Linked DNA regions of Homo sapiens: all the other regions are linked to region 2. Evidence: promoter capture Hi-C in 16 types of primary human blood cells and fetal thymus (Javierre and others, 2016). All regions are on one chromosome and are shown on one strand. Each heading gives the region's core, a stretch centred on a gene start or on the middle of the fragment in contact. The rest is flanking DNA. Distances are from core to core; before and after follow the strand shown. Region 1 overlaps KNL1 (kinetochore scaffold 1). Region 2 holds the start of RHOV (ras homolog family member V). Region 3 overlaps RAD51 (RAD51 recombinase).

Region 1 (2,700 bases), core at 65-2,564, 220 kb after region 2:
TGTCTCCCTCTGTCACCCAGGCTGGAGTACCATGGCGTGATCTTGGCTCACTGCAACCTCTGCCTTCCCAGTTCAAGCAATTCTCCTGCCTCAGCCTCCTGAGTAGCTGGGATTACAGGCGTCTGCCACCATACCCGGCTACTTTTTGTATTTTTAGTAGAGAGGGGGCTTCACCATTTTGGACAGACTGCTCTTGAACTCCTGATGTCAGGTAATCCACCCGCCTTGGCCTCCCAAAGTGCTGGGATTACAGGCATGAGCCACCATGCCCAGATGTATTCTCTCCATTTTTATTTTCAAACATGATTATAACATGTATGGTGAAGATAGGACATTTCTACAAAAACTCAAGACTTTATCACATATAGAAACAGTACTTGAGTAAGAGTGTGGGTTTACATGTAACACAGACCTGAGTTTAAATCCTGGATTTCATTTCTTTTTTTGAGACGGAGTGTCACTCTATTGCCCAGGCTGGAGTGCAGTGGCATGATCTCAGCTCACTGCAACCTCCGCCTCCCGGATTCAGGCAATTCTCCTGCCTCAGCCTCCCGAGTAGCTGGGACTACAGGCACACACCACAATGCCCAGCTAATTTCTTCGTATTTTTAGTAGAGACAGGGTTTCACTATGTTGGCCAGGCTGGTCTTGAACTCCTGACCTCCAGTGATCCGCCCGCCTTGGTCTCCCAAAGTGCTGGGATTACAGGTGTGAGCCACGGCACCCAGCAATCCTGGCTTTCTTTAATACCTAAGTGATCCTAGACACAATACTTAAGTTTTTTGATCTGTAGTTTCCTAATTTGTAAAATGGGGAACAAATCGCATGGACTTCATAGTGTTAATTTAAGTAATACACATGCCTGATACAGACTAAGTGCTCATAACAGTAATTTTTAAATTATGAAAATAGCTACTATTAATCATTGCTCAAGACCCAGTAATAATTTTTTTTTTTTTTTTTGAGACGGAGTCTCATTTTGTCGCCCAGGCTGGAATGCAGTGGCGCGATCTCGGCTCACTGCAAGCTCCGCCTCCCGGGTTCACGCCATTCTCCTGCCTCAGCCTCCCAAGTAGCTGGGACTACAGGCGCCAGCCACCACGCCCGGCTAATTTTTTTGTATTTTTTAGTAGAGACGGGGTTTCACCGTGTTAGCCAGGATAGTCTCGATCTCCTGACCTTGTAATCCGTCCGCCTAGGCCTCCCAGAGTGCTGGGATTACAGGCGTGAGCCACCATGCCCGGCATGTAATAATTTTTTTTAAATCTTTTTTTTTTTTTTTTTTTTTGAGATGGAGCCTTGCTCTGTCACCCAGCTTGAAGTGCAGTGGCGCAATCTCGGCTCACTGCAACCTCCGTCTCCCAGGTTCAAGCGATTCTCCTGCCTCAGACTCCTGAGTAGCTGGGATTACAGGCACCCATCACCGCGCCCAACTAATTTCTGTATTTTTAGTAGAGATGGGTTTCATCATGTTGGCCAGGCTGGTCTCGAGCCTCTGACCTTGTGATCTGCCTTCCTCGGCCTCCCAAAGTGCTGGGATTACAAGCATGAGCCACCGTGCCCAGCCTTATTTTTTATTTTTGAGACAAGGTCTCACTCTGTTGCCAGGCTGGACTGCAGTGGCATAATCTTGGCTCACCACAACCTCCACCTCCCAGGTTCAAGTGATTCTCCTGTCTCAGCCTCCTGAGTAGCTAGGGCTACAGGAGGGCACCATCACACCCGGCTAGTTTTTGTATTTTTAGCAGAGACGGGGTTTCACCATGTTAGTCAGGCTGGTCTCAAACTCCTGACCCCTGGTGATCCACCCGCCTCAGCCTCCCAAAGTGCTGGGATTAAAGGCATGAGCCATAGTGCCCAGCCCCAACAAATTTTTAGAGGCTTAAATGTTTTCTACTTACCATCTAACAGAGATTGAAAATTGACATCAACAATCTTCCTATAACGCTTGTCCAGGAAAGGGAAACCAACTAGAAAGAACCAGAATAATGATTTTTAAAAATTTTTTTAGACAGAGAGTCTCACTTTGTCTCCCAGGCTGGAGTGCAATGGCGCAGTCTTGGCCCACTGCAAGCTCAGCCTCCCAGGTTCAAGCGATTCTCCTGCCTCAGCCTCCTGAGTAGCTGGGACTACAGGCGCCCGCCACCACACCTGGCTAATTTTTTGTACTTTTAGTAGACACGGGGTTTCACCATGTTAGCCAGGATGGTCTCGATCTCCTGACCTCGTGATCCGCCTACCTCAGCTTCCCAAAGTGCTGGGATTACAGGCATGAGCCACCGTGCCTGGCCTTTTTTTTTTTTTTAAACTACCTGATTTGAAGTCACATAAAACTCAGTACTTTAGAATCCTACTCCTTCTGTGTAGCAGAGTTTTTTCCACAGGAAGTTGAAGGGTTATCCTTGAATCATTATTCTCTGTATCTAGTAAAGGCTCCCCTGAGACTGTTCAACTACATTGATTGGTATGTCTTTGAAGGACATTTAAAAGGTAGTACACAGCTATATTTGTTAAGGCCTCCTCTTTTAACCCCTAACTTCTGTGCAAAGATAATTTTATTTTCAGCAATCATATAAGGAAAATGGCTATCATCTCTCTACAACTCCTATCATTGTATAAATACAGTAAAAATGAGTTATGCTTTTAGCATTGCTATAATACATTTTAGGTAGCTGAGATAGCTGCTCGCTCCCCCAGACT
Region 2 (2,700 bases), core at 106-2,605:
TGCCCGGCTAATTTTCTGTATTTTTAGTAGAGACGGGGTTTCACCGTGTTAGCCAGGATGGTCTGGATCTCCCGACCTCGTGATGTGATCTGCCCGCCTCAGCCTCCCAAAATGCTGGGATTACAGGTGTGAGCCACTGCGCCCAGCCTATTTTTTATTTATTTATTTATTTATTTTTGAGACAAAGTCTGGCTCTGTTGCCCAGGCTGGAGTGCAATGGCATGATCTCAGCTCACTGCAACCTCCACCTCCCAGGTTCAAGCCATCCTCCCACCTCAGCCTCCGAGTAGCTGGGATTACAGATGCACACCACCATGCTTGGCTACTTTTTTTGGGGGGTTTTTTGTTTTTGTTTTTTAAGAGAGAGTCTTGCTCTGTCACCCAGGCTGGAGTGGAGTGGCCCAATCTTGGCTCACTGCAACCTCCACCTGCCAGGTCCAAGTGATTCTCCTGCCTCAGCCTCCTGAGTAGCTAGGATTACTGGCACCCGCCACCACACCTGGCTAATTTTTTGTATTTTTAATAGAGACGGGGTTTCACCATGTTGGCCAGGCTGGTCTCGAACTCCTGACCTCAGGTGATCCACCCACCTCGGCCTCCCAAAGTGCTGGGATTACAGGCGTGAGCCACGGAGCCCAGCAACAGCAGGCTATTAATAGTTAAATTTTGGGGTAGTCAAAAGTTATATAGGGATTTTCGGCTGACTGCACAGGGTTTCTCGCCCATAATTCCCGCTTTGTTCAGGGGTCAACAGGTTTTTTGTTTGTTTGTTTGTTTTTAGGATCTGTCACACATGCTGAAGTGCAATGGCACTATTATAGCTCACTGTAACCTTGAACTCCTGGGGTCAAGTGATCCTCCTGGCTTAGCCTCCCAGAACGCTGGAATTACAGGCATGAGCCACTGCTCTCAGCCTCAATATTTAAAAAAGTAATTCTTTCATTAATAAAATTATCCCAACTTTTTAATACTCATGCAAACATATGCATAGAGTTGTTTCTTGTAAGTTGAACAAGGTTTAATTTGCACACTTGTTTAACCTGAACATACTGTATTATATGTTCTGCAACTTGCTTCTTCCTCCTAACAATAAATCATGGATGTCTATCTCTTCTTGGTATTCTCATTTGACGATTCTTTGTCCTTGTACCTGCGTGACTCTTGGAGCTCCAGCTTTCTGCCTGCCTTTCCTCCTCCCGGGGTTTTCCTCCTCCTCGCCTGGCCTCGCAGGGTGCCTGGCCGCGGGAGATCTTCGCCGATGGGTGGGGTCCGGGGCCGCCTGAAACATGTAGATGAGATGGGCGGGGCCCTACACAAACCCGCTGGTAGCGCTGGGCCGACTCGCCCAGCCTGGACCCATTCAGTCAGAGGCAGCCAGCGGGACCTGCTTCACCGAGCGCAGCGAAGCCGAGACCCGGGCTGGCCCCTCTGCTGCCCCCGGAGCGGGCCATGCCGCCGCGGGAGCTGAGCGAGGCCGAGCCGCCCCCGCTCCGGGCCCCGACCCCTCCCCCGCGGCGGCGTAGCGCGCCCCCAGAGCTGGGCATCAAGTGCGTGCTGGTGGGCGACGGCGCCGTGGGCAAGAGCAGCCTCATCGTCAGCTACACCTGCAATGGGTACCCCGCGCGCTACCGGCCCACTGCGCTGGACACCTTCTCTGGTACGTACGTTCAATCGCCCGTGCGGCCGCGTGGCTGCGGCGGGGCTGTGCACCGGGGAGCTGGGGCGGGCGTCTCGGCGGGAGGGCGCAGAGGACCCCGGGGAGGAGACTGGAGCAGGCCCCGAGGTGGCGCTGGTGCGGCCCAGGACGCTCTTCCTAACTCAGGCTCTCCCCGCCCCGCCCCTGCAGTGCAAGTCCTGGTGGATGGAGCTCCGGTGCGCATTGAGCTCTGGGACACAGCGGGACAGGTGAGAAGCTGGGCGCGGCCTCTACTGGTCTGCGGGGAGATGGGCTGGAGGCTGGGAGGACCCCATATGGAGCAAATGGAGAAAGCCTTGGGCTCTTGGAGTCTCAGGTTTCCAGCCCCGGGTGAGAAATGGATTCCATGTGTCGGGGGGCTAATCCTTACCACCTGGCCTTCCCACCCCAGGAGGATTTTGACCGACTTCGTTCCCTTTGCTACCCGGATACCGATGTCTTCCTGGCGTGCTTCAGCGTGGTGCAGCCCAGCTCCTTTCAAAACATCACAGAGAAATGGCTGCCCGAGATCCGCACGCACAACCCCCAGGCGCCTGTGCTGCTGGTGGGCACCCAGGCCGACCTGAGGGACGATGTCAACGTACTAATTCAGCTGGACCAGGGGGGCCGGGAGGGCCCCGTGCCCCAACCCCAGGCTCAGGGTCTGGCCGAGAAGATCCGAGCCTGCTGCTACCTTGAGTGCTCAGCCTTGACGCAGAAGAACTTGAAGGAAGTATTTGACTCGGCTATTCTCAGTGCCATTGAGCACAAAGCCCGGCTGGAGAAGAAACTGAATGCCAAAGGTGTGCGCACCCTCTCCCGCTGCCGCTGGAAGAAGTTCTTCTGCTTCGTTTGAGCAGCTATGGCTGCATAGCAAGTAGTAGGCAGGAGGCCAAAGACTTCTGAGACCTGGGGCACCCGGGCCTTTGCGGCAGCTACTGGCAGGGCCTGGCCACCTCATAGGACTCAGTTCCCTTCTGAACACTCGGGGGACATGGGCCTCTAACTGCCCACTCTGATATGCC
Region 3 (2,700 bases), core at 161-2,660, 170 kb after region 2:
TAACAGTCACCCCTGGAAAGGATAATGAGATGACCGAAGAATAAGAGATAGAAGGAAGAAGTCTTTCACTACATTCCCTTTTGTACTATTCCCACTAATGCCTCCCTAGGTTAAGTAAGCAGTACTTACCAGAATTTTATCAGCTTTGGCTTCACTAATTCCCTTAATATTTATTAGCTCCTTCTTTGGCGCATAGGCAACAGCCTCCACAGTATGGAATCCAGCTTCTTCCAATTTCTTCACATCGTTGGCATTTATGCCACACTGCTGCAAATGAAGAAAACCATGGATAAATTTAAGCTTTAGTTCTCTAATCTAACACAGATGTTATGTGTCCTACATACTTCACAGAGGTGCTTGAAGACTTGTAATACAACTGTCCCTTGAAATCCTTGGGGGGGCGGGGGGAGATGGGAAGTTGGTTCCAGGACCCCCAGCAGATAACAAAATCCAACAATGCTCAAGTCCCTTATATAAAATGGCGTATTACCTGCATATAACCTATGTACATCCTCCTGTATACTTTTTTTTGATATGTAGTTGATTGAATTTTTGATACGTAGTTTGTTGAATTTGCTGATACAGAATCCGGAGATACAGAGAGCCTACTGTTATTATATGCAAAAGCTGAAAAATGAGCCCTATATATGAGGTACTTAATAACAAATTAACAACCTTTTCATTATCAAAATCAATAATTTTAAACTAGCACTAAGCCATGTACATTAAAAAGAACTCCTATTAGCAATTGGAATTAAAAAGTAACTCCCAACCTTTTTTTGTGACCCTAAATGATCTCTGAGACCTTGGGCCCTACAAGACCACTTTAAGACAGTGTTGCTCAACACTTTCCACATCAAGCACACATAAAAAACTGTATTTTTACACTATGGTAGGGTAAATAGATAAGGCTGCTCAGAATATAAAGAGCACTATCTTGGCCTGTCAATACTTTTTGTTGAACAATGACCAGAAAGCTCTGCTCTAACAACTGACATTAACAGTGAGGAAAACTACTTTTTGTCAGGGACTTTTATACCTCTTCTCAAAACAAACCACCCAAAGACACCTCTTTCTTCCTATATTCAAGTCAGCTTTGGTTTCATTAGCCACCAAAACCATGACTTCTGGGAAAACATGAGTTAGTAGGTGAATGTGGGTGCATTCAGGGGTTGGGAGAATTTAGAAGAGGGGAGAGATTAGTTTGCCAACATAAGCCATGTCTGCTATTAATATTTAAGCAATATGCATGTTTGAGTATAAGGATGCTCATGGCACCAGAAGTTATGACTCTGAACTTTCAAATGTTTATCACAAATCCATTTAAGTAACTTCTAGAGTCTTTTTTTTTTATTAGCCTTTTGCACTCCTAACTTCTAGAGTCTTGAAGATTAGTCAGAGATGGGAAATATGAAAAAAAGAGACAGAAGAATCAAGTCTTTCTCTGCTTTCCTCCTACTTAGCCCAAATCAGCTGCACTCACAGGGCAGTCTCTATACAATGGGCAGAAATAGTGTAAGGCCTCAGCTCTGGTGCTTAATGTTCTTGTGCAGAATCCTGAATTGGAGCTTGTCTCTTATACCATAACACCACCACACCCTTCTCTCTGCCAATGACAGCTGACAGCACAAATCTAGGTTAATGGAGAGAAGGTGCTTCCCTGTCTTCCTTGCATAACTGGTCCAGGCCGCTATAATTCCCAGAACAGCACTTTCATACTTAGTGCAAATAGCACAGGATGCTTTGGCCAGGCATGGTGGCTCATGCCTGTAATCCTAGCAGTTTGGGACGCCAAGGCAGGTGGACTGCTTGAGGCCAGGAGTTCAAGATCAACATGGTCAACACAGTTAAGACCCATTTCTTAAAAAACAAACAAAAAAACAGCACAGGCTGGGCGCAGTGGCCCATGCCTGTAATCCCAGCACTTTGGGAGGCCAAAGAGGGTGGATCACCTGAGGTCAGGAGTTCGAGACTAGCCTGACCAACATGGAGAAACCCTGTCTCTACTAAAAATATAAAATTAGCTGGGTGTGGTGGCTCATGCCTGTAATTCCAGCTACTTGGGAGGCTGAGGCAGGAGAATCGCTTGAACCTGGGACGCAGAGGTTGCGGTGAGCCGAGATCACGCCATTGCACTCCAGCCTGGGCAACAAGAGCGAAACTCCATCAAAAACAAACAAACAAACAAACAAAAACAGCACAGAGATTCCACCATGGGATCCTAGGCCTTAGTTTCTGACAGTCCAACTCTCAGAAATAAAAATGATAAAGTAGGAAGAGAATTGTTGACAAAGGAAGAGGCCCTGCCAGACATATTTAGCAATGATCTGCAGCCTTTCCACAGGATTATTGACAACACTTCTGAAAAGTCTAATTTGGGTCTTGACCTTGGTAGTAAACCTATATTTTATGTAAAGGTTGTAATACCTTCCACTAGGTAGAAGAATCTAGTATATAATTCCAAAATTAGCAACTAACCACATACCTCTAACCGTGAAATGGGTTGTGGGCCAAAGCTTTCTTCTTCCACTGAAGTATCTGCATTTGCTTCAAGCTGCATCTGCATTGCCATTACTGAAAAATACAAATGCTTATCAGTATAAACACTAGAGAAATAAGGTGCATCTCTCTCCCCATCTTCTATCTAGCTAGTCGTATCAAAAAGACTTTAGGAAAAGCCAAGGCCATTCTCTTATTGTG

Evidence for each region. Contacts are between HindIII fragments. The CHiCAGO score rates a contact against its expected background, and 5 or more counts as called.
Region 1: a contact is called between a fragment that was not itself captured here and the fragment with the promoter of RHOV in region 2, in 1 of 17 cell types (M0 macrophages). The highest score is 5.6, in M0 macrophages.
Region 3: a contact is called between a fragment that was not itself captured here and the fragment with the promoter of RHOV in region 2, in 2 of 17 cell types (M0 macrophages and M1 macrophages). The highest score is 6.5, in M0 macrophages.

What each region holds. Positions count from the first base shown.
Region 1 is chr15:40,654,179-40,656,878 of GRCh38, reverse strand. It overlaps KNL1 (kinetochore scaffold 1), which reads right to left. Exons shown (of 26, transcript NM_144508.5): 22 at 1,902-1,970. Among named protein-coding and RNA genes, the nearest start is that of RAD51-AS1, 40 kb to the left of the region's middle. The HindIII fragment of the contact is 3,025 bases long and covers 1-2,700 here.
Region 2 is chr15:40,872,889-40,875,588 of GRCh38, reverse strand. It overlaps RHOV (ras homolog family member V), which reads left to right and starts at 1,355. Exons shown (of 3, transcript NM_133639.4): 1 at 1,355-1,657; 2 at 1,847-1,905; 3 at 2,088-2,700. The coding sequence starts at 1,450. The coding sequence ends at 2,531. LOC124903475 (a long non-coding RNA gene) reads right to left here and starts at 1,847. Exons shown (of 2, transcript XR_007064600.1): 1 at 1,666-1,847; 2 at 1,001-1,279. RefSeq lists a silencer at 1,301-1,820. The HindIII fragment of the contact is 13,617 bases long and covers 1-2,700 here.
Region 3 is chr15:40,698,631-40,701,330 of GRCh38, reverse strand. RAD51 (RAD51 recombinase) reads right to left here. Exons shown (of 10, transcript NM_002875.5): 2 at 2,486-2,574; 3 at 130-267. The coding sequence starts at 2,572. Among named protein-coding and RNA genes, the nearest start is that of RAD51, 4.8 kb to the right of the region's middle. The HindIII fragment of the contact is 2,216 bases long and covers 303-2,518 here.